Linked DNA regions of Homo sapiens: region 1 is linked to region 2. The links are contacts of gene promoters, found by promoter capture Hi-C in blood cells and fetal thymus (Javierre and others, 2016). All regions are on one chromosome and are shown on one strand. Each heading gives the region's core, a stretch centred on a gene start or on the middle of the fragment in contact. The rest is flanking DNA. Distances are from core to core; before and after follow the strand shown. Region 1 holds the start of ZNF384 (zinc finger protein 384). Region 2 overlaps NCAPD2 (non-SMC condensin I complex subunit D2).

Evidence for each region. The method cuts DNA at HindIII sites, captures the fragments that hold promoters and counts their contacts. A CHiCAGO score of 5 or more calls a contact.
Region 1: a contact is called between the fragment with the promoter of ZNF384 here and a fragment that was not itself captured in region 2, in 5 of 17 cell types (erythroblasts, naive B cells, monocytes and 2 more). The highest score is 6.9, in erythroblasts.

What each region holds. Positions count from the first base shown.
Region 1 is chr12:6,687,236-6,692,988 of GRCh38, forward strand. ZNF384 (zinc finger protein 384) reads right to left here and starts at 2,140. Exons shown (of 12, transcript NM_001385745.1): 1 at 1,863-2,140; 2 at 932-991. It also overlaps a transcript of PIANP not described here. RefSeq lists silencers at 1,989-2,098, 2,179-2,258 and an enhancer at 1,992-2,618. The HindIII fragment of the contact is 17,984 bases long and covers 1-4,339 here.
Region 2 is chr12:6,522,935-6,528,372 of GRCh38, forward strand. It overlaps NCAPD2 (non-SMC condensin I complex subunit D2), which reads left to right. Exons shown (of 32, transcript NM_014865.4): 16 at 1-68; 17 at 328-412; 18 at 2,649-2,782; 19 at 3,134-3,266; 20 at 3,353-3,437; 21 at 3,514-3,681; 22 at 3,957-4,129; 23 at 4,843-4,954; 24 at 5,034-5,157; 25 at 5,239-5,394. Among named protein-coding and RNA genes, the nearest start is that of GAPDH-DT, 8.8 kb to the right of the region's middle. The HindIII fragment of the contact is 4,316 bases long and covers 1,263-5,438 here.

The DNA.
Region 1 (5,753 bases), core at 890-3,389, 160 kb after region 2:
CAAACTAAACAGGACTGCTACCACCACACAGCTGGCAACCTGGGCCAACAGCTTCTAGCCTGGGCACCACCGGACCACTTTACCCTGCATCCTGTGGGAGGGACGGCACGGTGGTTCTCCTTGCCCTGTCTGTTCCACTATAAATGATGGATCTGGGGAATGTGAGGCCAAAATAAATAAATAAGACTGGAGAAGAAGAGATATGTACCCAATATTTAATCAACAACTTGGCTCAGAAACCCACAGGGCATTTTATAAACCAACCTCTGGGATCATAAGTTCTGAACTCAAACTCTTTAGGTCCACTCACTGTCATTTTCAGGCTACCCGAAACTCTTCCAGACCTACTTCTGGAGTCTACTCCGTACAGTTTTATCCACTTCACTCCAGACTAACCATGAAGCAGTTTTTTTTTTCCCCTGAAAATTTCATCTTGCCATACCAAATTCAAATAACCCTGTGTCACAGATTCTAATCACTCCACAGACCCACTTCTAACACTCCACTGGACTATTTGGGATAGGAACTCCATTCTAAACTCAGCTCTGCTTGTTCCAGACACAGGAAAGCAATTCCATAAGGACTATATTGGCATTTAGGGTCTTTGTGTCCCAAAGCAGAATAAAGATTTCCCCTTTGGACACAAGGCAACACTATTCAGTGGCTTCACCTGAGCATTTCATATTTCATTCCTGATGAGCATTAGTAGGAATGGAAAGTGATGGGGGATAGCGCCAACTTTTTACACAAAAACTTCCTGACCCTCAAGAGATAATAGAAAAAAACTGATTTCTCTCCACAACAATCTCAGCATTACAATTGCTATTACTTTAAGTATTCTATCACATTGTGAAACACACACACGCCCCATTTGGTTGTGACCCCTTCTCCCCCAAAACCAGAAAAGCCATTAACCCAAAAATCATCTTACCCTCTCTCTCTCTTCCTCCTGCCGTCTTATTCCTTCTCCTTTCCAGGGCTCCTGAACTTTCTGTAAACAAATTGTCTAGGTTACAGGGGCCAGGCAGGGTGCAGCCACCAGAGAACTGTGGAGAACCTCAGGAATTATTTGTCAGCAGTCAGTCTGGAAGGCAGGCAGACCCCCCAGCCAGCAATCCAAAGACGGGTGGATATAATAACAGCAGTCTAGTGCTACCCTCTACGTGGATACAAGAGAAATAAATCCAATTCCCAGAAACTAAGACGAATTCTATCACCAGCGTTTGGGTTTCACTCCTAGGCTCAGAGACTGGTCCTTGTTCGTTCCCAGGCCACAGGTAACCAGGGGTCAGAGAACATTAGAGATGGAGGAGGAGGAGGGTCTGTGCCCCTGAGGAGTGGCTTCAGAAGGCAAAGCTGAGGGCTGGGGGATGCACAAGACCTTGTGGCAGGCACAGTGCCAGTTCAGGCCCAGCCACTTCCTCTAGCCTTCCCCCCACTTCTTCGAGGACTTCGCCCCCTGCCTACCCGAGGCCTTGTGCCAAGAAGTACCTCCCTCAGCCTGCACCGTGGTCTATCTACTGGAGACCCCAGCTGTCCCCTCAAAACCTTCGCTCCCCTGAGACAGTTCCTGGGAGCCTTCTCCTGATGTCGTCCCCTACCCCTTTCTCAAAGACCCTTCCTTGGGACGTCCCTCCTTCCCCTCCAGGGAGCTGAACTCTGCCACCCACCAGACAGGCACCCGCCCCCTAAACCCCCCCATTCCTTCCCATCGCCCGCTCCTCCACAACCACTTCCGGTTCCGGGACGGACACACACACAGTCACATCGTGGACCCCCCCTTCCCCGCCTGCCCAAGGAAAAGGGGAGGGGGGAGGAGCAAGCAGCTTGGCGCGCGCCGGCTGTAGCGGCGCGAGACTCACCGGGCGGCGACGGCTGCGGCGGCGCCAGAGCCTGAGCCAGGGCGCGGGAGGGGCGGCGTTTGCTGGGAAAGGAGGGAGCCGAGGAGGGTGGGAGGACCAGGAAGGGGCGAGGGAGGGGAAAAAGCGCAAGGCGCAGCGCGCGGGCACGCACTTCTGGAGCGAGACAGACCCACACACTCACACGCACGGAACGCGCGCGAGACACCCGCAGGGCGGGGGCGCGAGGTAGTGGGTGGCCCCCCCTCCTTGCTGCCCTCCCCTTGCACTCACCCGGAAGTGGTGCTGCAGCTCGTGCTCCCGCGAACCCCAGTTCCTCCACGCCCCCCTCCCTCCCCCCAACAGGCTCAGAGAAGAGCTCTGCGGAGAGAAGGCGGGAGCGCCGGAAACGAAAAGGGGGGAGGGAGGGAAATAGCAATGTAGGGGGGGCGCTAATGGAGAAAGAGGGGCGTGCAGAAGCCGAGTCACTTCCGGGAGTGGCTGGAACACTTCCGGCGCCGCTAGCGCTGCGAGATATTCAGGGCAGAAGTTACGATAACTCGGGGCGGAAATAGCTTCTGCCCAGCGACTGGGAAGAGGGGATGTGACGCTATAGCGGAAGTGAAGGCGGGTTCCGCTAGGGGCAAAAGCTGAAACCGGAGGACTCCGGCCCTGAGCTTCCGGAAGGGACATCTGGGGAAGGTGGGGGGGTGGAAACGCGACAGGTTCATGAATTATCCATCAAGGTAGGAGAGGAGGTGTGGGTTCTTCAGATGCTGGGACCCCGTTTCTCTTCCCTCTGGATGTTGAATAAGCTGATGTAGGAAATTACCATTATTTTTTCTGATACCCCCAAGAATGTCTCAATGCTTTGAATATGCGGGAAAGGACTAGGACGTATCCTTGTTTTTCGGAGGTCCCTACTTAGGTCCAGTTAGAAACTCTCCCAGCCATCAAAATCTGTCTCTCTGACACATCCCTTACTTTACTTTGGTCTTTTCTTGTTGCCCATACCCACATCTCTATCCCCTTACCCTGTTTTACTTAAATATAGCACTTATTACTGCCTGATTTATTGTTTGCTGTCCACCTCTCCCAACTAAAATATTGGCTACAGGACAGCGAGGACTGAATTGTTCGTTGCTGTATCCTCATATCCTGGCAGTTAAGTGGTCTGTAAACTCTTGTTGTATAAATGAACTATAGTTCATTATGAACACCTAAATATGAACCCTTTTAGGAAGCCTTGCCTGATTGCTCCAACCTGTAATGGTCCCTCTGAATTCCCATAGTATTTAATACGTACCTTTTATTGATATTTTAACTATTTCATACATGTGATTCCCCAGCAAGATTGTCAGTTCCTCATGGAAGGAAATACGTTGCTTTGCTGAGCATATAGTAAATGCTGAATATGTTGTTTGAACAAGTGAATGCTGTTACAAGCGTGCACCCCGACCTGGCCAGAATCCCCCTGGGCTCAGCTCTAAGCAGAACTGAGGTCTCTCCTACTAATGGTAAGAGCCTCTTGCTGAGAAAAATAACCTTTTTTTTTTTTTTTTAAAGACAGAGTGTCACCCTGTTGCCCAGGCTGGAGTGCATTGGCGCCATCTTGGCTCACTGCAACCTCTGCCTCCTGGGTTCAAGCGATTCTCCTGCCTCAGCCTCCCTAGCAGCTGGGATGACAGTCGCCCGCCACCACACCGGGCTAATTTTTTGTATCTTTAGTGGAGTCGGGGTTTCACCATGTTGGCCAGGCTGGTCTCGAACTCCTGACCTCAACTGATCCACCTGTCTCAGCCTCCCAAAGTGCTGGGATTACAGGCGTGAGCCACCACGCCCAGCAAAAAATAACTTTAACAGAAATAATTATAATGCTCATTTTACAGATAATGAAAATAAGCCTGTAAAGGATTAAGTGATTTTTTCCCCCAAGGTCAAAGCAAGAAAGTAACAAAGTACGCCTTTAAATATTTAAATAGATGATGCATTTCATTGTAATTGTAGTTTGTATCTTTTTTAAAGTGTCTGTTCCCTTTATCACATTTTTGGGCTCAGCACTCAGTCTCTGTTGACTGAGTAGCAACAGTTGGCAGAGTAAGGATTTTAAGGGCTCAGATGTGACCAGACCTATTGCTGTGTGGGTTAGAGATTGCTGATTCAAGAAACCTTGACATCAGGGGCTGGTATTGAAAGGTGGGAACAGGAAATAGTAATAATAGCTATACGTTCTGGTTCTCCTCCTGCTCTTTTCCTATTTATGTTAACTGGGCACTTCCTGGGTCTCCGTGTCTCCGTCAGCCCTATTCCTGCCCTTGCTATAAGAAGGAAGTTTCCCAGCTACTTGGGAGGTTGAGGCAGGAGAATCACTTGAACCTGGGAGGCGAAGGTTGTGGTGAGCCAAGATTGCGCCATTGCACTCCAGCCTGGGCAACAAGAACTAAACTCCATCTCAAAAAAAAAAAAAAGAAGTTTCAAGTGCTTTGAACTCCTTAGGGAAAAGCTTTAGAACAATAAATGTGGGGCGTAGGGGGAGGAGGGCTGTTAATTTTAGCCTGGGGTTCTCCAGCTGGCATACTGTTTCCATCTTGAATCACTTCCACACCCTAAGCTGTGCCTGGGAGATCCCTCCCTCCTCCTGGGGGCTTCCCCATTCCCTGGTTTGGTCTAAGCCGCAGTGGCAAGCATTCCAGAAAAATGCTAAGAGAAGCCTGGCTGAGTCATTTGATGCACAGCTCAGGAGGCAAAGAAAGGATGGTGATGAGACGCTGGTTCCAGTGGTGGCTGTGATGTGTGACCTCGAAGAACCTTCCAGTTCCCAAAAGGACAGCATGGCCATTGTTTTTTTCTTGGCTAGTGACTCTGCTGCAGCTTTCTGAGGACCTCTCAAAGCCCCACAGTCTCTGTTTCAACTACAGGAGAGAAAAGTTAGGGCTTGCTCCCCAGGGCCTTACGACTCTTCATGGCTAACGTGACAGTGCAGTATCATTTGGGAGAATTTTTTTAGTACAGTTCAGAGTCTGGAACAGTCTCCTTCCTCCTCTGTCTTTCCTGCCTTCTGACTTTCCATGGGGAAAGGAGGACATTTAGGAAGAGGGAACAGGTGAGGATTTCCAGTACCTTGCTGGTGTATTTTAATTTATTTAAATTTAGAGAAACAGTGGTCTAATCAGGCAGTAATTAATTCCCTCTTCATTAGGGGCCTTCATGTTTGCCTTTTGCATATGGATGAGCCACGGGTCACACTGTCCCTTTGAAGAGAGATCCTTGCTGAAGGTGAGAGCCCAGTGTGCTCTCCGGCACTTGAGCTCCTTCCCCTTCTGTGCCAATGCTTCTCTTTTCTCCCCACCCTCACCTGACAAGGACTAGATTCCTGTGGGGAAAGAAGGAAAGGTTAATGAAGCTTCCTATCCCACCCTCCTTGGATCTGGATCCCTCCCTCACGGCCCACAGTGTATACCATCCATGCCTCATCCTGTACCCTCAGGTTTTATCCAGCCCGCTCTCCCATCAGCCACCTGCTGGGATATCTTCATGCCCCCAGTGAGTTGACTCCTCAGAAGCTTGTTTGCCGGGCACCTCTGCTTTGAGTTGGTTCATCAATCCTTGGCCCAGCTCTGCTTCTTTCCCTTGTAGCAGTCCTTTTCTTAGGGAGTGTGACGCCCTGAATGCACACACTGCTCTAATCCTGAGAAATACACTGCCTCTTCCTGGCACTCAGCATTATGTGCTGCACAGGCTCAGCCACACTTCCCTCAGCTCACAGTAAAGCTCCCAACACCTAAAGCACACACCTACCAACACACAGACATTCCTAACCTAGCTTGAAAGATAAATGCATGGGGGCATATCCAGTCCAGAGCAGCCCAGGCCACCCTTTTGTACACTACATCATCCCTATCCTCCCTGGGGCCA
Region 2 (5,438 bases), core at 2,171-4,670:
GGTGTCCGGGAAGCCGTGCTTAATGCCTACCGCCAACTCTACCTCAACCCCAAAGGGGACTCTGCCAGGTATATGGGGTGCTTTTGCCTTTGCTGACTTTTCCAAGGTCAGCTTCTCACAGGACTTCCCTTGTCTCCTAAAGGAAGAGGTGCATTTCTCCAGGGGAGTTCCAGATCCATAGGCAGTCCATCATAGTGGGGCTTAGGGTGGGGCTCGGTTTCCAGGGAGAGCAGTTTTGTAGCACTGTGGTGGGATAGCCCTAATCACTGTTTGCCAAGTTCAGCTTCCCAATCTTATAGTGACCGCTGATCTCTGCTGTTCCCACAGAGCCAAGGCCCAGGCTTTGATTCAGAATCTCTCTCTGCTGCTAGTGGATGCCTCGGTTGGGACCATTCAGTGTCTTGAGGAAATTGTAAGGCTTCCTGCTTTCTCTTTCTTTATTCATTCAACAAGTATTTTGGTTGTTTTTTTTTTTTTTTTTGAGACGGAGTCATGCCCCATTGCCCAGGCTGGAGTGCAATGGCACAATCTTGGCTCACTGCAACCTCCGCCTCCCAGGTTCAAGCAATTCTCCTGCCTCAGCCTCCCGAGTAACTGGAATTACATGCATGTGCCACCATGCCCGACTAGTTTTTTGTATCTTTAGTAGAGACGGGGTTTCACCATGTTGGCCGAGCTGGTCTCGAACCCTTGACCTCGTGATCCACCCGCCTCAACCTCCCAGAGTGCTGGGATTACAGGCGTGAGCCAAAGCGCCCGGCAACAAGTATTATTGAGTTATTACTATGTATTTAGCAATTTACTTAGCTCCAGAAAGAAGTATAAGACTATTTGCTTTCATGTTCCCAACTTTAAAGGAACCAACAGTCTAGTTGGTAGTGAAAAACCACAGAACATTTTTAGAACAATGCAGCAGGTAGATAATAAAGTGCCAGAATGAGTTGTACGGGTAATGGTTGTCATAGCAATAATAACAACCTCACTTATATGGTATTGAATATATGACAGGCACTCACACGTTACTCACAGTAACTTGTTTAATCCTCACGACAGCCCTGTGAGGTAGCATTATCTGCATTTTACAATGAGAAATCTGAGGCACAGAGAAGTTACTGAACTTGGCTGGTTACAGCTAGTTAGTGGCAAAGTTTGAGATTCAAACTCAGGCAATAAGAGCTCTAGAAAACATACTCTTAACTTCTGTGTTCTACTGAGGGATACAGAGTAGGAAAGAGAGCGGTTTGGGGTAGAATGGTCAAGGAAGCTTCCTGAAGGTGGTAGGACTTAAGCTGGGTCTTGAAAGATGAGTAGGATTTAGAGAATCAGAGCAAGGAGGGAGGGCATTTCAAACAGAACCCAAGAAAGAGCACAGTTCACATTGTAGAACAAAGAAGACTGTGTTCTGGTTCAAATTATCTGGAAAAGACCAGGCGCGATGGCTCACGTCTGTAATCCCAGCACTTTGGGAGGCCAAGGCAGCAGATTACCTGAGGTCTGAGGTCAGGAGTTCGAGACCAGCCTGGTCAACATGGCGAAACCCCACCTTTACTAAAAATACAAAAAAATTAGCCAGGTGTGGTGGTGGGCACCTGTAGTCCCAGCTACTTGGGAGGCTGAGGCAGGACAGTTGCTTGAACCCAGGAGGTGGAGGTAGCAGTGAGCCGAGATTGCGCCACTGCACTCCAGCCTGGGCGACAGAGGGAGACTCTGTCTCAAAAAAAAAAAAAAAAAAAAAAATCTGGAAAAGATAATAAAGTTGTGAATGTAGGTTGGAACTAAACTGTGGAAGTCCCTGAATGACTTCAGGAGTCTAGGACTTTAACTGTGTTAGCCAGGCACCCAGCATTTTAGTGAGACATTCTGCTTTGTAGCATTTGCATTGCGGGCACAGAGAGTGGAGGTGGCGCTGGGAAGCGTGCTCCTGCCAGCCACATTTTTCTCCTCACTGGGGAAAAGAAAAGAGCCTGGTGGTGGTGATTGGCCATGATGTCATAGGTCAGTTACCGGCAAAAGCCCTACAAGAGGCAGGGGAGAGCACCTGCAAACTGGGGTGCAACAGAAGGGACGTGGGGAAGCAGAGGCTGAGGAGACCAACCCATGGGAAGGAAGGCCCGTGGAGGCTGCTGCAGTGGGCAGTAACGAGGGGCTGGACTTGAGGATTGGAGAAATCACTGCAGAATGGGCTTAATGGAAGACAAATTTTTAAAGGAAAAATAGTGACTGATTTGTAAAAAAATTAGATGACCGAAATTTTAAGCACATATTACTGATAGAGTGTTGATACCACTGGCAAAATGAAAAGGCAAGGAAGGATGATGGCTTCCATGTTGGACATGTTGAGTTTGTGGTAACGGCAAGAAAACCTGTTAGAAATCTCCAGACTTAGAACTATGGACCCACGTGGAACTCAAAAGGTCAGTTTCGATATGTCACTTGAATAAAATAGTTTTGAAGGCATGAGAGTAGAAAAGTAGAGAATGGAAAGCCTCTCAAGACCCTGCTGTACATTTTGAACCTCCTCTTTTCTTTTTCTCTTCCTAAGTATTACTTTTGTCTACTTCAGGTTCGCAATATCATCTTCAGAAAAGCAGACCAAAGATCAAGGAATTGTTCATTTTTGGCTTGAGCCCTTTTTCTTTTCTCTTTAGCTCTGTGAGTTTGTGCAGAAGGATGAGTTGAAACCAGCAGTGACCCAGCTGCTGTGGGAGCGGGCCACCGAGAAGGTCGCCTGCTGTCCTCTGGAGCGCTGTTCCTCTGTCATGCTTCTTGGCATGATGGCACGGTGAGGCTCAAATCTAGCAGGCAATGGGGTGGGAGAGCAAAGGAAGGTTCTGAGAGGGCTCCTTTTCCTTCAGTGACATTGTCACAGTGAGGCCCAACTGAGCTCTGCTGTGAGTTATAACGCCACCTAAATGGAAAAGCAAATAGTGAGAGGACCAGCCCTCCTGCCTAGTAGTAGTGGGATTCAGTAAAGCAACAGGACCCAAGAGGCTGGCCCTGCGGCAGAGCCACGCTATAGTGCTCCACGGCTCTAGACACCACATGAGGTGCTGGTACCTACCCCTATTGGCCCTTTCTCCCCCGATGAGTCCAATCCATGACTGCCTTTAACTCTGTGGCTTCCTTCCCCTAGAGGAAAGCCAGAAATTGTGGGAAGCAATTTAGACACACTGGTGAGCATAGGGCTGGATGAGAAGTTTCCACAGGACTACAGGCTGGCCCAGCAGGTGTGCCATGCCATTGCCAACATCTCGGACAGGAGAAAGGTATGTGGGGGTGGTTCCAAACTAAGGAGAGTGGAGATTCTCGTGTCCACCCTGTACACACACCCACGTTGTCTTGCTCTCCACAGCCTTCTCTGGGCAAACGTCACCCCCCCTTCCGGCTGCCTCAGGAACACAGGTTGTTTGAGCGACTGCGGGAGACAGTCACAAAAGGTGAGCTCTCAGGGAAGGCCTTGGGCAGAATTGGGCCCTTTGTTGCAGTAAACAACTTCTCCCTCCTCCTCTGCAGGCTTTGTCCACCCAGACCCACTCTGGATCCCATTCAAAGAGGTGGCAGTGACCCTCATTTACCAACTGGCAGAGGGCCCCGAAGTGATCTGTGCCCAGATATTGCAGGGCTGTGCAAAACAGGCCCTGGAGAAGCTAGAAGAGAAGAGAACCAGTCAGGAGGACCCGAGTAAGTGGGCAGGGGTTGACCCACTGCGGCAGCCAGCTTCTGTTCTCCCTGCAGGGCCAGGAGCCACTGCCACCACCACTATCTGCAACAACCCTTAGTGTACACTGTGTCGTTTTTGTCTAAGTTGAAGTTGGGCCAGTTCCCACCCCCAACTCTTACTACTTCACTAGTTTGAATAGCACGTGAGCAAGGGGAAGATCAGTAAAAATCGGATTCAGGTTTGATGGGACTTAAAAATGTCTCTTTGCCCCACCTTCCCTCTCCCTCTCCTCCAGAGGAGTCCCCCGCAATGCTCCCCACTTTCCTGTTGATGAACCTGCTGTCCCTGGCTGGGGATGTGGCTCTGCAGCAGCTGGTCCACTTGGAGCAGGCAGTGAGTGGAGAGCTCTGCCGGCGCCGAGTTCTCCGGGAAGAACAGGAGCACAAGACCAAAGATCCCAAGGAGAAGGTGTGTGAATGTCCTCAGCACTTCCCAGATTTATTTCATACCTCAGCTCAGAACTGAGCTGATCCCCTTCCGGCAATCTCTGCTCCTCTGCTATTACATGAAGCGAAGAGTTTCTGCCTCTCTGTGGCTACTACCGTAGGAAAGGTTCGTGTGAACAATGACGAAACTGTCAGTGATCACCCAGGAAGGAAAGATTTAGGTAAATGCAGAGTGTGGAGTTAGAGACCTCAGCATAAAACAGAGGCTTTGTGTCTGAGGCAGGGTTTGTTAGAACACGCACGTACCCGCCGGCCTTTTCCATCAGCTTCCATTGCTGGCCTGGCCCCGGATGGGGCCCTGTGTTCCCTCCACTAGAGGCAATGATGTCTTGCAGACAAATAAGACACAGAGCCTTGCAGCGCTGGAGAAAAGTCTGACCTCTGTGACTTTGAACCATTGTCTGGCGTGATCCATCTGTTTACCATATATAGGAAACGATGTCTTCCATGAGGAAGAGGTGCAGAAACACGCTTTGGCAACTTAAAACAAATGGGGACCTCATTGTTCCCCTGCTTAATTCAGGAATCCTTTCTCTTTACAGACACATTTGACAATTCTCTAAATGTTTTTGTAGAATTTGCCCTTCCTCACTTTGTTCATGCAAAACAAAGTATGGGCTGGAATCAAAAATGTTGTCTCTGCTTATCCATGATCCCCAATTTCATTCCCTTTAGAATACGAGCTCTGAGACCACCATGGAGGAGGAGCTGGGGCTGGTTGGGGCAACAGCAGATGACACAGAGGCAGAACTAATCCGTGGCATCTGCGAGATGGAACTGTTGGATGGTAAGAAAAATGGCTGCACTCAGCAGTTTCTTCCCAATTAAGATAACCTGTCCCAAACCTGCAGTTACTCTTCCAACAGGCAAACAGACACTGGCTGCCTTTGTTCCACTCTTGCTTAAAGTCTGTAACAACCCAGGCCTCTATAGCAACCCAGACCTCTCTGCAGCTGCTTCACTTGCCCTTGGCAAGTTCTGCATGATCAGGTAGGCCGTGGGGTTGGTACCCCCTTCTCAAGGAAGATGGGGATGAAATGGCTTCCCTAATGATCCTCTTCTTGCTCTTAGTGCCACTTTCTGCGACTCCCAGCTTCGTCTTCTGTTCACCATGCTGGAAAAGTCTCCACTTCCCATTGTCCGGTCTAACCTCATGGTTGCCACTGGGGATCTGGCCATCCGCTTTCCCAATCTGGTGGACCCCTGGACTCCTCATCTGTATGCTCGGTAAGAGACCCCTCACAACGTGGTGGCAGTTCCCAGGAGCCCCG